Linked DNA regions of Homo sapiens: regions 1, 2 and 4 are each linked to region 3. The links are contacts of gene promoters, found by promoter capture Hi-C in blood cells and fetal thymus (Javierre and others, 2016). All regions are on one chromosome and are shown on one strand. Each heading gives the region's core, a stretch centred on a gene start or on the middle of the fragment in contact. The rest is flanking DNA. Distances are from core to core; before and after follow the strand shown. Region 1 has its middle 23 kb from the start of NUDT4B. Region 2 overlaps MINDY1 (MINDY lysine 48 deubiquitinase 1). Region 3 holds the start of H2BC21 (H2B clustered histone 21). Region 4 holds the start of ZNF687 (zinc finger protein 687).

Region 1 (2,700 bases), core at 165-2,664, 1.1 Mb after region 3:
TAATGAATACAGTCACTGGTAAGGGAGAACCTAGAACCCAGTAGGTGTATATTTTCAGGAAACTGAGCTCACAGAGATGTGTATTAGAATCCAAGTGGAACTTCTGCCTCTAAAGACCTTGCAAGAAAAGAGATGTCCTGAAAATGAAAGGTTGCACCTCATTTAATGAAGCTTAACCCTATGTAGAAAGTCTCTTTCGGGGGCAGAGGCTTTCTCTGGGTGCCAAGCCATATATATTAGGGAATAGTAGATTGTTATTTCGTTTTTTCCCTCCCAGTGCATTTTAAAAACAGCACTGGCTGGGCATTCTCATTCTCTGATGGAGCCATCAATGAGATTTAACTTAGTCAACCTGTGCTAGCAACATTCTGAAATTCCTTCAAAGAAGGCAGTCCTTTGGGAAGGTGTTTTTTTTTTTTTGTTTTTTTGTTTTTTTGTTTTTTTTTGACTCTAATCAACATTCCTTTTGTTGGTGACATTTGTGATTTTCAGTAATCTGAGTTTTTGATGGCCTTTTAAACAAGACTCCAGTATGTGAAGGTTAATTGCTGTGCTCCACAGATCTTGTCTATTGGCCCCTGTAGAAAGTTAACCTTTGTTGTTTTCCTTTTATAATTTGCTTATTGCACAATTGCTTTAGGGTAAGTGAATTATATTAAGATGCCTTGAAATTATAGCACTCCTTGATTAAGAAGCTAAAATGTTTCTCTCATTTACTCCTTAAACAAAAGACTTAAATTAGTTTGGGTCATTATTACTTTTATTTTGCAGCATTTGGTTTGTTATTAGTGTAAGAGCAAGTATAGGATATGGAGAGGCCCCTGGCTTCATGAGAACAAAGGCAGGCCCAGGTTATAATTACAGCTTTCTCCTGCCCCTTCTTTACTTTCTCTACCACAGTTTTCTCCGCTGTTTGTTTTCCTCTTGCCACAATTTGCTAACACTTAAAAAATTTTCCTGCACCCAGTAGTTTCATATCCTGTAGACATCCTCTTAGGACATTCTCAAATTTCAAAATAAAAAATATTCATCTATGTAGTTAATTAAAGTTAAAGTTTCTGCAGATCAACTACTCAAACTACTAAATACATTTACCTGAGAAAAAGTCTCTGAGAGCACTTCATTCCTGTTTTAGTTCGTGTAAATTCTCTGAGAATGTTCTGGAGATAGATAACTCATTTACAGTGGTTTCTATTAACTAATTAAAGTACCCATGATTTTTTCCTTTTCTGCTCAGGGATGATGGAGATTTCCTTTTACCTTTTTTAATGGGGTAAATTTTTTAATGGGGAAAATAGGCCTTTTAAATATTATTGCCAGGGTCTGCAATATAACTTAAAATTCCTGTACATACTGCAAATATTTCTTTAAATTGCACAGGAAAATGAGCGAACTTTTTATTTCTTAATATCTTTGGCAAAAAACTTTAACCAGTAAGCAATTTTATAACCCTGAGGGATCATCAAAGATACTATCCTGATTCCTGGTAAGGAAAAATATATTATTTCCTTATAACAAGGCAAGGAGAAATGCTATTTTATTCCTGATAATTTATATAGCTAGAATAATTTTTTTCCTTTCTTTTATGGACCTAAATCTGCCAATTGGGAATTTTGTGCATGAAATATGAAGTTACTTTTTATAGATAATCAGTGCTTTTAAGTCCCTAAAAGGCTCCTGCTGAAGTAATGATGAAGTTCATAATAAAAGCCTTTGAAAGGCTGAAAACCTACATAGTGGTACCATAGTATTTGGAGCTTCTATAGGAGTGGAGAGGGGCAGCTCATTGTTGAGAGTTGCATGCTGCAACCTAATGGTCAGCAATGAAAGAAATACTTGTAGAATGTTCACTTCAGTGTGAAGTTTTGTTATCTAGTTAATTTATATACATATATCCTTTGTAGATACATTTCTATCTAATCTTGTTGAGCTAATTAAGAAATAAGGGGTGGGGTAATTGTCAACAAAGGGAGAAGAAAGTGGTTTAAGATCAGGGCAGCAGAAAAATTAGAGAACAAGAATATCATAATATGGCTCCTGGTTTTCTTTATAAGAGGCAGTGGGAAGATCTGACTAGATGAAATGTATCATCAACCAAACTGGCATCTAAAATAGAATGGGATAAATACTGTATGGGGTTATTGGAGGCATATTAAGAAAGGACACCTAATTTATTTTGGGAAGAAGTATGTTAAGAGAAGACTTTCTAGAGAAGGAGAATGGGGCATTCTAGGAAGAGTCAATGGCATGTGCAAAGGCATGAATAAAGACAGTGAGGCATGTTTTGGAAATGTAACAGCTTGATTCAGCTTAGCCCATAGGGTAAGCATAGACAACAGAGGAGACTTGAGGAATGAGAACTAGATGGGTACACTATCATAAAGGGACTTGTCTATCATGCTGAGGAGTTTAGACCATCTTAATGGTAGTGGCCAAGGATGGCATCAGATTTATAGTTTCAAGTGATCATAATATTGGCATAAAAGATATATTAGGGAGGAAGCCTGAAGTAGGGAGATGAAAATAAGGAGCCATCAAAGGCAGAATGAAACTTAGGCAGATTTCAAGTGATTTTCAAAAATGATGTGATCAGAGGTACCAGATAATAACTATTACATAACACTTTCTTTGTTAGGAGCTTATTTCTCACACTGACCAAAGCTTTTGAAGTAAGTACTCTTTACACCACTATATAAATAA
Region 2 (2,700 bases), core at 84-2,583, 1.1 Mb before region 3:
TTTCCTGCCCCTGCCTCTTAAGACTTAGCCCATTTAGCTCTGCCCAGTTCCTCTGAGACCCCACTCCCTCAGGTGTCCACTCCTGGGTTCCTTTGGCTCACCTCTCCAGCCAGCTAGCTGCCCAACCCCCACTTCATCATTGATCATTTCTGGCACTGGAGAGAAAATATAAAAAATAAGGCCTGCTTTTCTTTTTTTTTTTTCTTTTTTTCTTTTTTTTTTTGGAGGCAAGAGTCTCACTCTTGTCACCCAGGCTGGAGTGCAGAGGCACAATCTTGGCTTACTGCAACCTCCACCTCCGGGGTTCAAGCAATTCTCCTGCCTCAGCCTCCTGAGTAGCTGGGATTACAGGTGCCCGCCACCGTGCCCGGCTAATTTTTGTATTTTTAGTAGAGATGGGGTTTCGCCATGTTAGCCAGGCCGATCTTGAGCTCCTGACCTCAGGTGATCCGCCCGCCTCGGCCTCTCAAAGTGCTGGGATACAGGTGTGAGGCACTGTGCCCGGCCAAGGCCTGCTTTTCTTCAAGCTTTTTCACTTTTCCAGGCTCTGGCATCTGCTTTGAGGTTCACCCTAAGTGTCATTTAAGGGGAGAAGGAAAGGAGAGAGAGAAAGAGAGAGAAAAAAAAGCATAAGGCCTGCAGGCAATTTTTGCTACTCTGATTCTAAATTAACAACACGTAAATGATATGCAGCTAGCATAAACATATGTGAATCAAGAGGATAATCAATTTGAGTGACTAGGCTTATTTTGTTTCAGTAACTTTAATGTTCCTCAACCTCATCTCCCAGGCCTTCCCCTAGCCCCAAATTCCTGTAGGTTTACAAGAAGGAAGCAGTCTCAGGCTGGGAGGAGGGTGGAGAAAAGACAAGATTTCTAACTAGTTTAATTTATTTTATTTTATTTTATTTTATTTTATTTTATTTTATTTTATTTTATTTTATTTTTGAGATGGAGTTTCGCTCTGTCACCCAGGCTGTAGTGCAGTGTCACCATCTCAGCTCACTGCAACCCCCTGCCTCCCAGGTTCAAGCAATTCTCCCACCTCAGCCTCCCGAGCAGCTGTGACTACAGGCACGTGCCAACACACCTGGCTAATTTTTGTACTTTCAATACAGACAGCGTTTTGCCATGTTAGCCAGGATGGTCTCGATCTCCTGACCTCAAGTAATCTGCCCGCCTCAGCCTCTCAAAGTGCTGGGATTACAGGCGTGAGCCACCGCGCCTGGCCCCTAACTAGTTTAATTTCTCCCTGTTTCTCTCCCTGATAAAGAGTGGGAGGGGAGCAAGGAGATTGAAGGGAGATGTTTTCCAAAGGGCAGGATTTGTGGTTTTTTATTATTTATACCCACAGTATTAGTTAAATGTCTATCTGTGCTTGCCTCAATGTGCCTCCAGTGCTGATAGAGAACAGGTTAAACAGGTCCGGTGTTCACATCTAAAATGACCTGGAGAGGACTGGGCACGGTGGCTCATGCCTGTAATCCCAGCACTTTGGGAGGCCAAGGTGGGAGGATCACCTGAGGTCGGAAGTTCAAGACCAGCCTGACCAACATGGAGAAACTCCATCTCTACTAAAAAATACAAAATTAGCTGGGCATGGTGTTGCATGCCTGTAATCCCAGCTACTCGGGAGGCTGAGGCAGGAGAATCACTTGAACCCAGGAGGCAGAGGTTGCAGTGAGCCGAGGTCGCACCATTGCACTCCAACCTAGGCAACAAGAGCAAAACTCTGTCTCAAAAAAATAAAAATAAATAAATAAAACCACTTGGATGGGAATAGACATAAAACTTTAGGTAGGTGAATGTACAGGAAGTATTGTTATGTAAATTAATAATCAGCATTTTCATATTTCATAGAAATAGCAGGCAAGAGAGTACCTCTGGGTTTAGGTAGTTTCTGGGGAAAAAAAATGAACTGAGGAAAAGTTGCTGTCTCAATGCTAGCTGTCAAGAGATGCTTACTGGGTCCAGGCACCGTGGCTCATGCCTGTAATCCCAGTCCTTTGGCAGGCTGAGGAGGGCGGATTGCTTGGGCCCCCAGGAGTTAAGACCAGCCTAGGCAACAAAGCAAGACCCTGTCTCAGTTTAATTAAAAGAAATTTGATATCTTTATTAATTTTTTTTAAAGAGAAGCTTACTGGAAGAACTTGTGGGGAGTGCTTTTTGTGCCCCTAATCTGAAGTTATTTATCAAAACCAGTCTCTGATTCCAGCCCCCACCACCTACATTTCCCCTCCCAGCTTACAGGAAACCCCTCCCAAGGCCTTTATACTGTGGTTTGGGATTGTGTAAGGTTCAGTAGAGCCCTTTGAGGTGGAAGACTTCCCCTTCCTCACCAGCATTTCACCTTTAGGGGCATGAAACTGACTCTCTGTGCCTCCTCCATTCTTCACCCCAAGTACTATGTGACTTAATCTTTTTATCCTTGGGTGAGGCAGAGAGAAGGTATCCCTAAACATACAAGCACTGTGTATTCTTAGTATGTTGTGTGAAGGGGCAGGGTGTGGGGTAGGGCAGAGGAATTATCTCTGTCATGGCTATGAGGGGGTTACTGATGTGATGCCTATTAGAGTAAGCTAAAGATCATCATATTAATAACCATTAGCGTAGATTTAACATTTCTTTCTCCACCTCTTATCCTTCTTTCTCCTTTGTGCTCTCCCTTTCTCTCTGTCTTTCCTCCCTTCCCTGTCATGAT
Region 3 (2,700 bases), core at 16-2,515:
AAAGAAGCTGTAACTGCAATTTTAGCCGTAATGTCAGGACGCGGAAAGCAGGGAGGCAAGGCCCGCGCTAAGGCCAAGTCGCGCTCGTCCCGCGCTGGTCTCCAGTTCCCGGTGGGGCGAGTGCACCGCTTGCTGCGCAAAGGCAACTACGCGGAGCGGGTCGGGGCAGGCGCCCCGGTGTACCTGGCGGCGGTCCTCGAGTACCTGACCGCGGAAATTCTGGAGCTGGCGGGCAACGCGGCTCGGGACAACAAGAAGACGCGCATCATCCCTCGCCATCTGCAACTAGCCGTGAGGAATGACGAAGAGCTCAACAAGTTACTCGGGGGTGTCACCATTGCCCAGGGCGGCGTCTTGCCCAATATCCAGGCTGTCCTGTTGCCCAAGAAAACGGAGAGTCACAAGCCTGGCAAGAACAAGTAATTAAGAGGCTTGACACCATACTCATTCACCCCAAAGGCTCTTTTAAGAGCCACCAAAGTGTCAAATGAAGGGCTGATCACGAAATAGCGCATTAGCTCTTTTTTTGAAAACTTGGGTGGCTCTAAAAAGAGCCTTTGGTCTTGGTTTGTTTGTCTGCATTTATTTGCTTTTGGCTTTGTGGCTTTCGGTTTTCTTTGGTAACAGAACGGCCTGGATGTTAGGCAAAACGCCGCCCTGGGCGATGGTGACTTTGCCCAGCAGCTTGTTCAGTTCCTCGTCGTTGCGGATGGCCAGCTGGAGGTGACGAGGGATGATGCGCGTCTTCTTGTTGTCCCGAGCCGCGTTGCCCGCCAGCTCCAGGATCTCGGCGGTCAGGTACTCGAGGACCGCCGCCATGTAGACGGGCGCGCCGGCCCCCACCCGCTCCGCGTAGTTGCCTTTGCGCAGCAAGCGGTGCACTCGCCCTACCGGGAACTGGAGGCCAGCGCGGGACGAGCGCGACTTGGCCTTGGCGCGGGCCTTGCCTCCTTGTTTGCCACGACCAGACATGACTGAAATCAAGGTTAAACACAGACAACGCTCAGAACCTCGCAACAAAATAAGATTGAAAGAGAACCAAGAGGAAAGCCTTTATAAGCTTTCCTAGGGGTGGGGTCAAGAACGAGTTTTTCATTGGTCCTAATATGGCTTCAGAACCGGCCAATCAAGTCAAGAGTCGGTGTTGTTACGTACGCATTGCTGAAAACGCAAGGTCCGCACACGGACCAATGGAAATGAACGACTTTCGGAGCCCTAATTTGCATAAGGTGGTTATAAAAGAATCAGGCCCGCCCATTCTCTTACTTCTTTTCTTGGCTAAGCCGCGTTTGTACTGTGTCTTACCATGCCTGAACCGGCAAAATCCGCTCCGGCCCCTAAAAAGGGCTCCAAGAAAGCCGTCACCAAAGCCCAGAAGAAAGACGGCAAGAAGCGCAAGCGCAGCCGCAAAGAGAGCTACTCCATCTACGTGTACAAGGTGCTGAAGCAGGTCCACCCCGACACCGGCATCTCGTCCAAGGCCATGGGCATCATGAACTCCTTCGTCAACGACATCTTCGAGCGCATCGCGGGAGAGGCTTCCCGCCTGGCGCACTACAACAAGCGCTCCACCATCACATCCCGCGAGATCCAGACGGCCGTGCGCCTGCTGCTGCCCGGCGAGCTGGCCAAGCACGCCGTGTCCGAGGGCACCAAGGCGGTCACCAAGTACACCAGCTCCAAGTGAGTCCCTGCCGGGACCTGGCGCTCGCTCGCTCGAGTCGCCGGCTGCTTGACTCCAAAGGCTCTTTTCAGAGCCACCCACCTAATCACTAGAAAAGAGCTTGTTCACTTATTCCCTTAGTTTCTTTTCATAAAGTAAGTTATTTTAGTGTGAAGGTCATGGGAAATGGCATACGTAGCTTTTTAACTATTTGGAACTCGAGGTCCCCAGTGCGTCATTGGATTTGCTTTTGAATCTAGAGCGTGTCTTTACTCATTGTGCTGCTTAGCCTTCCCAGGAGTCGGTTCTCAATTAGGCTGTTGGGAATCCGCCTCTTTACCCGCCCCCACTCCCGCCCCACACGCGCCCTGGTGGCTCCTTGGGTCTGTTTCATTCTAAAACGAAGTGGCTGAGTTCGGCTGTCATTTAAGAGAACTCCAGGACACAATTCAGCCCGGGTTCCGCAAACACTGCGTGACAGCTCTGTATGACTGACGCTTGGCAGCAGCTTTTGTGTCCGGTCACCAGTTCTGCCGTGCGATGGGGCCTCCTGTGGATACCAGCCGTTCTGTGTATTTTGGACGAAGGCCGCGCAGCCGGGTCCCAGCCTTGTCCTGATTGGGCGACAAGAATATTCAAAATTCTGCGCCTTTTTCTAATTTGTAGATTTCAGTTTCCGTCGTTCACTTTGAGACTTTGAAATTCCTATTTCTCATTTTGTTGATAATTTCTGCATTTAATGGTCTGTGCTTTAAATGGTAACGCTACGGCCCCAGGTCACTGCGAGGCACTTACCATGTAGATACGGGCTCAAAAGTCACCTCTCAGAGACCTACGTCATCCACTCAGGAATTCGCGCCTCTCATACTTGCCTGTCTCATTTTATCTTCCTTCTAGCAGCTGTCTGAAATTGGTTCGTCTGTTTTCTTGTTTATGGTATTCTCAAGCCCTTGACAGACCGGCTAGTGTGGTTTTCCCGTGCATCTTCAGCCTGGCACATTATGGACACTTAAATACTACGTATTGATCTAATATTG
Region 4 (2,700 bases), core at 118-2,617, 1.4 Mb before region 3:
ACCTTCCACTCAGGTACTCAGAAAAGTGGACTGCTACAACGAAGACCAGCGGGGACTAGGAGAAAACACCTGCGAACTCACCCGCCCCCACACCCCGCCAGCCACCTCCCTCTTGGGTGCCCCAGTGACTTAGAGGTCATCCGATGGCCACCCACCCAGAGCAGACAGTCGACCAAGCAAGCCGCCAAGCTCAAGCCAAGGAGGATCAGGCCTTCCTGCGACTGCTGAGCCCTGTCTCTAGGGCTCCTATCTCCCCCGCCCCCTTTCCCTCTGTGGTTCCCCAAAAGCCAAAGAGGCTGAACAGGAAGAGGCTGAACAGGCCCAGGTCGAGTGGGGGCTCCACTGACCTTTGCCCGGGCCCAAGGCCTGCAGCGCAGAGGAGGGCGAGGGGCTGGCGGCGATTAGGTTGAGGCCAAGCTGGGTAGCAGACGGAATTAAGTCCCTGCCATCTGCCGAGGGCTGGCGCGGGGAGCAAGTCCTGGGTTTCGAGGAGGGGGCGGGGTGTACACATGAGAAACTACAAGGGAAACTGAGGCGCGCGGCCCTTCTCTCACTCGCACCGGCGTGCGAAGCGAAGGCCGGGCCTCAGCCAGGCCAGGCCCTTTGGGAGCTGCTGCGCAGCACCTGGGGACCCAGGACTACACAGGATAGGGTGGGGAGCTGGAAAGAGGGGAGGAGAGAGGGGACGGTCTCTGCGCGACTCTCAGCTCTCTAGCTGGGGTCCGTCCCAACTCGGACCTCGTCCCCTCCCCTCCGGGCGCAGCGGAGCCTCCTCCCGCCGCGCACTCCCGGAGGCTCGCTAGAGACTGGAGACTGATCGGGGGGTGCGCAGGGGGCCGGGGGCGCAAGCCTGAGTCTTGCCCGGGCCCGGACGCTGACCCGCACCCAGTCGGGGTGCAGGTTCTGCTCCGGCCTGGCCCAGGTCCCCCGCCCCCATCCCCGGGAACGGACACCATTTTAGGTCGCGACATCCCGCAGCCTTCAATCTCCGGGCCGCACTTCGGGTGCCTCTCGAGCCGGGGGCGCCAGGACCTGGGGTTCTCGACCCTCCTGGGGGTTTACCCGGCTACGGACTGTGCTTACAACAGGCCAGGAGTTTCGCCCATCCGCCCCAATGGATGGAGGCGGTGTCTGGGCCTTCCTAGAAGCCGCCCCAGGGGGCGGCGCGGAGAAGGGGGTAGTTGACCAAGTGGGGGAGGGGCGGGGGTATTTACCCGCCCCCCCCAAGGGGGCGGAGCCAAGGGCGGGTATTTACCCCAGGCACGCTTACTTGTTCCGCTCCTGGTGCGGGCCGAGACCCGGCGGTCTCTACCCCGCTCCAGCCGCTGCAGCCACCGCCGCCCTCCCCGCGGCCGCCGCTACTTCCTGCTTCTCTCCGGTTCGGCCTCCCCACTCCCTCTCCTCCCTCCGCGCTCCAGGTCTGGGCTGCCCGTTTTCGCACTCGCCATTGGCCCTTGCCCCCGTCGCTCAGCCCTGTGCCCCTTCCAGCCCCGCACTGGGTTGGCCCTAAATACTGCCGCTCGGAACTAGCCCCGCACAGTCCTCTTATGCTCATTGGGCAAGGGGCCGAGGCCCTCTGAAGATACCTCTCCCCATTGGCTGCGCCGGGGTCCGTCTGCCCCATCTACGAGTCTCGTAAACGATTGGCCTCCGCCACTGTCGCTTAGAAAGAAGCCAGCCTGCTTCCCAGCTTGCCTACTGGAAGGGGGAGCACCCAGGTGCGTCTCCGCCCCTCGCTCCCTACTGGCCGCTCGAAGCTTGAAGCTGCAGTTCACTTTCGCGAATGTAAGGAACCCAGCTTCTGTGTGGTGGGCACTGAGAGCAGAACCGCATTGAGTCGGAGTGGAGCACAGAAGTGTAGGTCCTTTTGCGCTGTTTCAAGCTAAACCCGTGTCACTGATGCCGTACAGAAGTTACAGAATGGGACGCCACCCCAAACATTACGTCATCCGCTGACCATTTCCTTGCGGTCTTCCCACCGTCTAAATCGCCATATAATCTGATGGATGGGGTCCTCGCGCGGTTCAGCTCCTGGGCGACAGCGTAACCCGTCGCTCCTCCCTCTGCGGGAGGGCGTGGACGGGGCACGGGATTTGGAGCATGGAAGGAATCGGGACCTAAAGGTTGGGAAGGGCTCGCGGACCGGAAGCGGGGGAGGTGACGTAGGAGTGCTGGCGTGGCCGGGCCATTTCCAAAGAGGCATTAAAGGAGCAACTGATAGGCGTCCTAAGTATGGGCTGGGGGGGGAACCGCCAGCTCCATTTCCCATTTAAGGGCTCCCCTTTTCCCCGCCCCCAGCATGGAGTGGGGGTGGGGTCAAGGTCGAGTTTTCCCGCGCTTTGTTGCCACGCCCCCTGGAGGCGGGGGAAAGGGAGGAGTCGCTCGGAAAATGAATCTCCTTGATGCTCTAATAGCACTCACTGGCAGAATTCGTATGCAAGCCCAGTGTGCCACCTCGCGCACGCAGCCGCTCGTTAACGGCGTGTTTTTATTTTTTAATTAATTTTTTTGAGGCAGAGCCTCACTCTGCTGCCCAGGCGGGAGCACAGTGGCGCGATCACGGCTGACTGCAGCCTCAACCTCCCAGGCTCCAGTGATCCTCCCGCCTCAGCCTCCTGAGTAGCTGGGACTACAAGTGAGCGCCAAATCGCCCTGCTAACTTTTTTATTTTTTGAAGAGACAGGGTTTTGCCATGTTGCC

The links. The method cuts DNA at HindIII sites, captures the fragments that hold promoters and counts their contacts. A CHiCAGO score of 5 or more calls a contact.
Region 1: a contact is called between a fragment that was not itself captured here and the fragment with the promoter of H2BC21 in region 3, in 7 of 17 cell types (M1 macrophages, monocytes, neutrophils and 4 more). The highest score is 16.8, in M1 macrophages.
Region 2: a fragment that was not itself captured here is called in contact with the fragment with the promoter of H2BC21 in region 3 in 1 of 17 cell types (non-activated CD4 T cells); the score reaches 5.6 in non-activated CD4 T cells.
Region 4: the fragment with the promoter of ZNF687 here is called in contact with the fragment with the promoter of H2BC21 in region 3 in 1 of 17 cell types (fetal thymus); the score reaches 5.8 in fetal thymus.

What each region holds. Positions count from the first base shown.
Region 1 is chr1:148,769,938-148,772,637 of GRCh38, reverse strand. It overlaps the pseudogene SEC22B3P. Among named protein-coding and RNA genes, the nearest start is that of NUDT4B, 23 kb to the right of the region's middle. RefSeq lists enhancers at 1-279, 280-839. The HindIII fragment of the contact is 2,490 bases long and covers 170-2,659 here.
Region 2 is chr1:151,002,978-151,005,677 of GRCh38, reverse strand. All of the region lies in intron 1 of MINDY1 (MINDY lysine 48 deubiquitinase 1), which reads left to right. Among named protein-coding and RNA genes, the nearest start is that of MINDY1, 2.6 kb to the left of the region's middle. The HindIII fragment of the contact is 1,608 bases long and covers 530-2,137 here.
Region 3 is chr1:149,885,247-149,887,946 of GRCh38, reverse strand. H2BC21 (H2B clustered histone 21) reads left to right here and starts at 1,265. Exons shown (of 1, transcript NM_003528.3): 1 at 1,265-2,700. The coding sequence starts at 1,307. The coding sequence ends at 1,687. It overlaps H2AC20 (H2A clustered histone 20), which reads right to left and starts at 1,029. Exons shown (of 1, transcript NM_003517.3): 1 at 536-1,029. The coding sequence starts at 972. The coding sequence ends at 583. It overlaps H2AC21 (H2A clustered histone 21), which reads left to right. Exons shown (of 1, transcript NM_175065.3): 1 at 1-478. The coding sequence starts at 31. The coding sequence ends at 423. RefSeq lists enhancers at 1-201, 222-361, 772-831, 962-1,031, 1,352-1,641 and 4 more. The HindIII fragment of the contact is 10,069 bases long and covers 1,063-2,700 here.
Region 4 is chr1:151,280,966-151,283,665 of GRCh38, reverse strand. ZNF687 (zinc finger protein 687) reads right to left here and starts at 1,367. Exons shown (of 9, transcript NM_020832.3): 1 at 1,271-1,367. It overlaps ZNF687-AS1 (ZNF687 antisense RNA 1), which reads left to right and starts at 1,737. Exons shown (of 2, transcript NR_135595.1): 1 at 1,737-2,123. RefSeq lists enhancers at 256-325, 634-1,519, 1,566-1,795, 1,826-2,025, 1,520-2,404 and silencers at 746-905, 1,186-1,465, 2,147-2,487. The HindIII fragment of the contact is 14,019 bases long and covers 1-1,759 here.